2 separate regions of the Homo sapiens genome follow, and region 2 is linked to region 1. The links are contacts of gene promoters, found by promoter capture Hi-C in blood cells and fetal thymus (Javierre and others, 2016). All regions are on one chromosome and are shown on one strand. Each heading gives the region's core, a stretch centred on a gene start or on the middle of the fragment in contact. The rest is flanking DNA. Distances are from core to core; before and after follow the strand shown.

Evidence for each region. The method cuts DNA at HindIII sites, captures the fragments that hold promoters and counts their contacts. A CHiCAGO score of 5 or more calls a contact.
Region 2: a fragment that was not itself captured here is called in contact with the fragment with the promoter of POU6F2-AS1 in region 1 in 4 of 17 cell types (M2 macrophages, megakaryocytes, M1 macrophages and 1 more); the score reaches 7.4 in M2 macrophages.

What each region holds. Positions count from the first base shown.
Region 1 is chr7:39,404,926-39,407,973 of GRCh38, reverse strand. It overlaps POU6F2-AS1 (POU6F2 antisense RNA 1), which reads left to right and starts at 1,628. Exons shown (of 4, transcript NR_046711.1): 1 at 1,628-1,640; 2 at 1,855-1,957; 3 at 2,969-3,047. POU6F2 (POU class 6 homeobox 2) reads right to left here. Exons shown (of 10, transcript NM_001370959.1): 6 at 1,234-1,374. The HindIII fragment of the contact is 9,360 bases long and covers 1-3,048 here.
Region 2 is chr7:38,931,612-38,934,659 of GRCh38, reverse strand. No RefSeq gene overlaps it. Among named protein-coding and RNA genes, the nearest start is that of VPS41, 24 kb to the right of the region's middle. The HindIII fragment of the contact is 915 bases long and covers 1,194-2,108 here.

The DNA of each region.
Region 1 (3,048 bases), core at 379-2,878:
ACTGTAGAGGGCACAGTGTTCATACAACCCTCCTTTAATATGTGCGGTGTGCACCTGTGATAAGATGATTCATTACATGGGGCCTCTCTTTGACAAGCTCCATCGTTCAGCCCTCGGGGTTCTGACGGGACAATACCACACCCGCCCAGGAAATAAAACAAGGTCAGCTTTTTTTCCCTGGAATGTAGACAGAGACGATTTAGCTTATAATGCATCTTTGTTTACTCTTTATGTAAAATAAAAACAGGGTTCAAGACATCAAAATGCCTGCTCTCCACAGAACAGGCCAAGCAGGGAGTATGCAAACACACTGCTGGGCAAATAGATAAGGCTGGGGGGAAAAGTCTTTGTGAGAATGCTAGCTCCTTCTCCCTTGGATTTCATGATCAGTCACACTGGAGAACCAAGTGTCCTAACCACTGGGCTCTGAGACAGGCCTTCAGATGGAGGGTACCCCGACATCATCAGCTTCATCTCGTTTGCTTTTTATGCAGCTTTTGGGTTTATTGGGTTGTCTGAAGCTCTTCCAGGATCTAGTATGAACATTATGTGGCACATTAGCAGCGTTGAGGGGACAGACCCTCTCTCATGACATGAGGAAAGTTTACTACCCCTGACATACTGAAGTAAATCAACAAGCATGCCAGAGGTTGCCTGGCTTCCGTAGGAATTGGCAGGAGGCCAGGGACCATGGGGCTGACTTGCAATTGGCTTCATTCTAACTCACCCCTTTTCTTTGTTGCTTTTACAAGACTTCTTCATCACCTTCCCATACATTCAAAAATTGGCTTTGTTAAGACTAATTTTGATATCTCTCTCACAGCAATTATGGAAGGAAACTGATCAGTTTCCCTCATTATCCAAGTTTTTCCTTAAGTGAAAAGTAAAAAAAAGCAAAACTGACATTTTATTTTTAAGATGTAACTTTTTTCTTTTTGAAAGAATGCCCCCTGTAATGCAAAGTAACTTCTTCATATAAGGTCATAACATGAGTCATAGTACAGAGATAAAAACAAAATAAAACTTTGGCAATCTAGAGGTAGGAAAAAAATCTTGCTTCTAAAACATAGAAACACCTCCCAACCCTTCTCCTATTCTTGACATTGCTAGTAAACATTATTTATTTGCCTCGAATAGATGCGGTTACATATCACTGTCATGCAAAAGAAATTCAATTCCTTTCCGAGTTCAATCTGCCATAAAAATGCACTCTTGTTCCCATCTCCCACTCACCTGTCCTTGTGCATTAGTAACTAGTTGACCTGTGACCCCCTGAAGACTGGAGAGGGCATTGCCAAAGGCCTGTGAGCTTGCTATGGAGCTCATGGCTGCTGCAGCCGCTGCAGCCTGACTTGCTAGTGGATTATTAACCAGCTGCAAAGAGAGAAAAGATCACCGTGAAAACCACCGAGAGGCACAGGCACAGCACACGGACACAACATTGACTCTGGGGAGGTAGTTCTCGCCTCAATTCGCTCATGCAAAGGGCCTGGAACCCACCGGAGGGGCGTGGCGAACATTCCCCCGGAAGCTCTGGGGTAGGGGGATGATGGAAACGAGGCTGGAAGGAAAATGTTGGGGAGCTTGGTGGAGTCTGGGTTTAGGGCTAGCCCAGGAGGGAACGAGCCTGAACTTCAGGGGTGAGGTGGGCTGTTAGGACCTTCTGGGGTGGAGAAATGATTTCGCAGAAGCCCTCTAGACTAAATAAAACTCAGGAAATATCTGCTTTCCCTGAGGTAACCAGACAGAATAGGAGAGTAAACAGGATGGGGATCGGGGAAAGAGAGGAATAGATTTTTAGGATTTCTAAGAATGAATTTATCATTTCCATTTGTGAATTGCAGTTTCTTTCAGGGACATCGAGCGAGGCAGGTGTTCCACCCCACTTTCTTGTTTGAGGGGAGAAGGAAACCAAAGCCAGTAGAAATGGAATTTATGGCCTCCGTGCTCTCAGAGGGTGAGTCTAGGGCTGCGACAATTTTGGGGCTTTAACCTAAACCACAGGATTCAATGCCAATGAGAAAGGTTGTTCGATGAATGGTCAGATTGACAACTGCTTGCTGTTGTAGCTGATACATGGTCTTTCCTCAGCCTCTTTCCTGGGACAAGAGTGAAACAGGGAGGAAGAAAGAGAGAGTGGGAGAGAGACCTGCCGGGGAGGAGGTTATGGCTGCCAAAATCTGTTTTTCCATGGAGACCAATTCAATATTCTCCTTCCTGCCAATTTTCCACGCCACAGGTTTTCAGGCCTTCTGACCATGAGGCAGAAGTGTGGCTTCAACTAAAATCTGCATTTAGGTTAATGACTAGATATAAATTCAAGAAACATTTAAACTATTTTCACAGTATTGGTTTTGATACATGAATTTCATTTGTATTTATTCTAGGGTGTTATTTTTTTCCCCATATAGTTTCTCTCAAGTACAACAATTGTTGTGTTGGAAATAATGCATTTTCCATCACCAGTTCCCACATCCATGAAATTCCTGCATTTTTTCAGAAACCTGCCACGACTAAGACTAGGTGGAAAAAAATTAATGCCATACCTAATTCAAGTCTTGGAAGCTCTTCTAAAAATGCCACTTTTAAAACTTTCCTTTCTTCATTTTTTGTCTCAGTCTCTCTTCTCTCTCTCTCTTTTCCTTCTTCCCTTCAAATCATATTTTATTTCTTAATTTCTTTGGAAATTTGCCTAGAGATTATACTATCTTATGAAGAAGGAAATATTAATTATCAGAGAAAACATCAAAAAGGACAGGAATTTAATAACTATTTTTTCATTAATGTGGTATCTTTATCTTATCGGTTTCTTTATTCATTTATAACTAAATTTCACACAACTGTTCTTCAGTAATTCTGCTGACCCAGCACATTTTTTAAAAAAAATGAGAATCCATTTTAAGTTGATTACTTTATGTCTTTTGCCTTTATCTCTCTCCTAAAAGACAATAATGATTTTCTTTTTAAGGAGAAAAAAATTCTCACTCATCAGCCTAAAGAGAAACCCTGTCTTATCCCAGATTACCACCATGGGATTTAAAATTCAGG
Region 2 (3,048 bases), core at 402-2,901, 470 kb after region 1:
AGTACATAACATTGAACCTTAATTTTAGTCCTTACACCACCGTGTGTGTGTGCACGCGTGCACGTGTGCTGGGGTGAGGTAGGTGGAAGTGTGTAGAGATGTGCGGCCACTGAATGTTTGGGGAAACAAAGGACACTGCAGGGTAGGCGGGACCCACAAAACCAAATGACAAGCACTTTTCCCTTTGCTCTTTTGGAGCACTCCAGGGGTCCTCGAGTGTGGTCCACAGACCAGTGTTGGTCTGCAAAGTACTTACCACCCGGATGTAATGCAATAAGTACAGAAATCCAGAGTAAGCCTTTAGACACTTTTACAGCAATTTGACACAGATCTAATACCACACAATTCTAGGCCCATGTTTGAAACAAGCACGCCACACTGGTTGTGGTTTCACACCAAGCAGTGTTCAGGCATGTTGCCAACCAAATTGGAAGCATGAATGTTGGTTGAGAGGAGTCTTATTTCATTAATGGTTAATTCTGCTCCTGTGCTCCTATCCCCACTCCAATTAAGTATAAAATACACATTTCAAGATTTGATGCCAAACCATAAAGGCTAGAGACAAGCCCTGCCACCCAGCAGTAAATATGAAGGGAAAGATTTAATGTAAACGGCAGCGTATGGCAGTGCTGATGATTTCTCATAAACTACATGGACTAATTTAGAAAGAAAAAAAAAAGTCAGAGAAGCCTTCAAGGAAGTAATAACCCAGAGGTAAAAAATATTGATTAGGGAAAAATATTATCTTAATCAAAATATGTCTTTTAGCTGGAAGTTGTTTGGGCTTCAGAAAGAGAACAAAATATGTTTCTAAGATGCACATTTTTCCTGTGGTTTTTGTTGAATAATGAGCAACGCCATCACTGTTACTGAAGTCTTTGCTGTGTAAATCAAAAGGAAGGCTTTAATAATTCTATAGGAAACCTTATTTATTAGTGTGATCAACAGTAAGCAATATTAACTATTTTTAAAAATCTCAATATATACCCATGAATTTGGGTATATCTTAATGTTAGATCCTGATAAATTTTACAGGGCTTGCCATATACTATATTTTCTTCTAATGAGAGCTTGTTATGTCTGATCTCTTTTTATCTGTCTTTAGAAGCAAATAATTCAAAATAACTTGTTTCTGCTAGCATTTGTTTGGAGCTCAAACAACTTCTTTTTAAACTCCTTTCAAGTTTAAAGCTTGACCTTTTAAACATGAAAATCAAACAATATTTGAATAGGCTACATGTTGTTTTATTTTTAGGAATTTTCTCAATTGAAATCGAATCTGAATCAAAGTAGATAAGAGTTACTTTAAAATTCTAACACCTCCCCAGCTTTTCCTTGATCTTATAATGTATGACTGTTCTTAAAATTTTATATACCCCGAAGTGTCATTATTATTTTCGTTTGCCATTTTGACACCGAGAAGTTTATTCTTAGGAGAAACTGTCGGTGGGAATACAGGATTCCATTCTGCATCCTATACATGGAGCAGCCTAAACTAAATGCTAAGAGACGCTCCAGAGTAACGGGGGGAAAGCAAAATTAGAACATATTTTCTGACTATTCAGTCTGTGTCCAAGTACACAAAGTGAGAAGTTGATAAATTGCCCAATAAATTTAGTCATTATAGCCCAGAAAATTTAGGTGTAATTGATGATCAATGACCCAAATCATTCAGGGACCCAAGTCCCTAGGAACTTCAAATCCCCATTCCATGTATAAATACTGGCTCTCCCTAAGGCCTCCTTCCCTGACCTAGACATTTCCTCACGTTGCTTCTGAACACATTTGCAAAACCTTTGTGTGTGAGAACTATAGTCTTTACTTTTGCATTGAAAGTGCAAGGAAAACTGAAGATTATTTTGAATCCAATCGTTTTTCCCCTCATCAAAATATGCAGTGAGCGCCCCCTGTTGGCTGCCTAGCAGCAGGCAATACACAAACACTCAGCCTTGTTAGTACACAAAGAAGGAAGTAAACAAAAAGAGCCAATGGTAATTTGGACTCCCGTATCTAAGGGGGGTAGAGGTGGGGAAGGAAGGAGAGGAAATCAATATTTGCTTAATGGAAAAGGACAACATTGATAGGGAAGGAAGTTTTATTCCCAAGCTTTTAATGGGGTATTACAAGCACTGGGGAGGAGAAAATTCTCTTTCTTTTCTCTTTCTTTCTTTTTTTTTTTTTTAAGCTTAAAGCTGTATATTTTTTTTTCAGTGTTAGATGAGTAAGAGTTCCTGAAATTATAGTGGGCAGAAAAACCAAACAAATACATTTGCTTTTGCTAAGGGCACACTTGGCTTTTTAGGTTGTGCCTTTCCTCTATTCTACTTAAGTCAAGCACTAAGAAATCTACTGTAAATTCTGGACTTTCCACCATGTTTTCAGGTAGGTGATCTGGGCATTGAAGGGAGGAAAAATGGCTAGGAGAATAATACACAAACATGCACACACATATATTTTCATTCTGATATCCTAAGGATTGAGTCAATAAACATAGATTTCCTTTATATTTACCTGAAGTGTCTTAAATTCTAACCCCTTCTAGTTTACCTGTTAAAATCTAGCTTTACTAATCTACAGGGAAGCATAGATTTTATTTAAAAATCCTGTTTAAAAAGTATGATAGTGGGTTTAAAAGTATAAAGGATATTTTTTCAATCCTGACAATAGAGGAGTAAGATGAATTTCTCTCCAAGAAATCTCTTCTCTGATAGGGCATGGTGGCTCATGCCTGTAATCCCAGCACTTTGGGAGGCTGAGGTGGGTGGATCACTTAAGGCCAGGAGTTTGAGACCAGCCTGGCCATCATGGCGAAACCCCATGTCTGCTAAAACTACAAAAATTAGCCAGGTGAGGTGGCATGTGCCTGTAATTTCAGCTGCTTGGGAGGCTGAGGCACAAGAATCCCAGCTAATTGGGGGGCTGAGGCATGAGAATCACTTGAACCCAGGAGGTGGAGGTTGCAGTGAGCCGAGATCACACCACTGCACTCCAGCCAGAGCAATAAGAGCAAGACTCTGTCTCAAAAAAAAAAAAAAAAAAAAAAAAAAA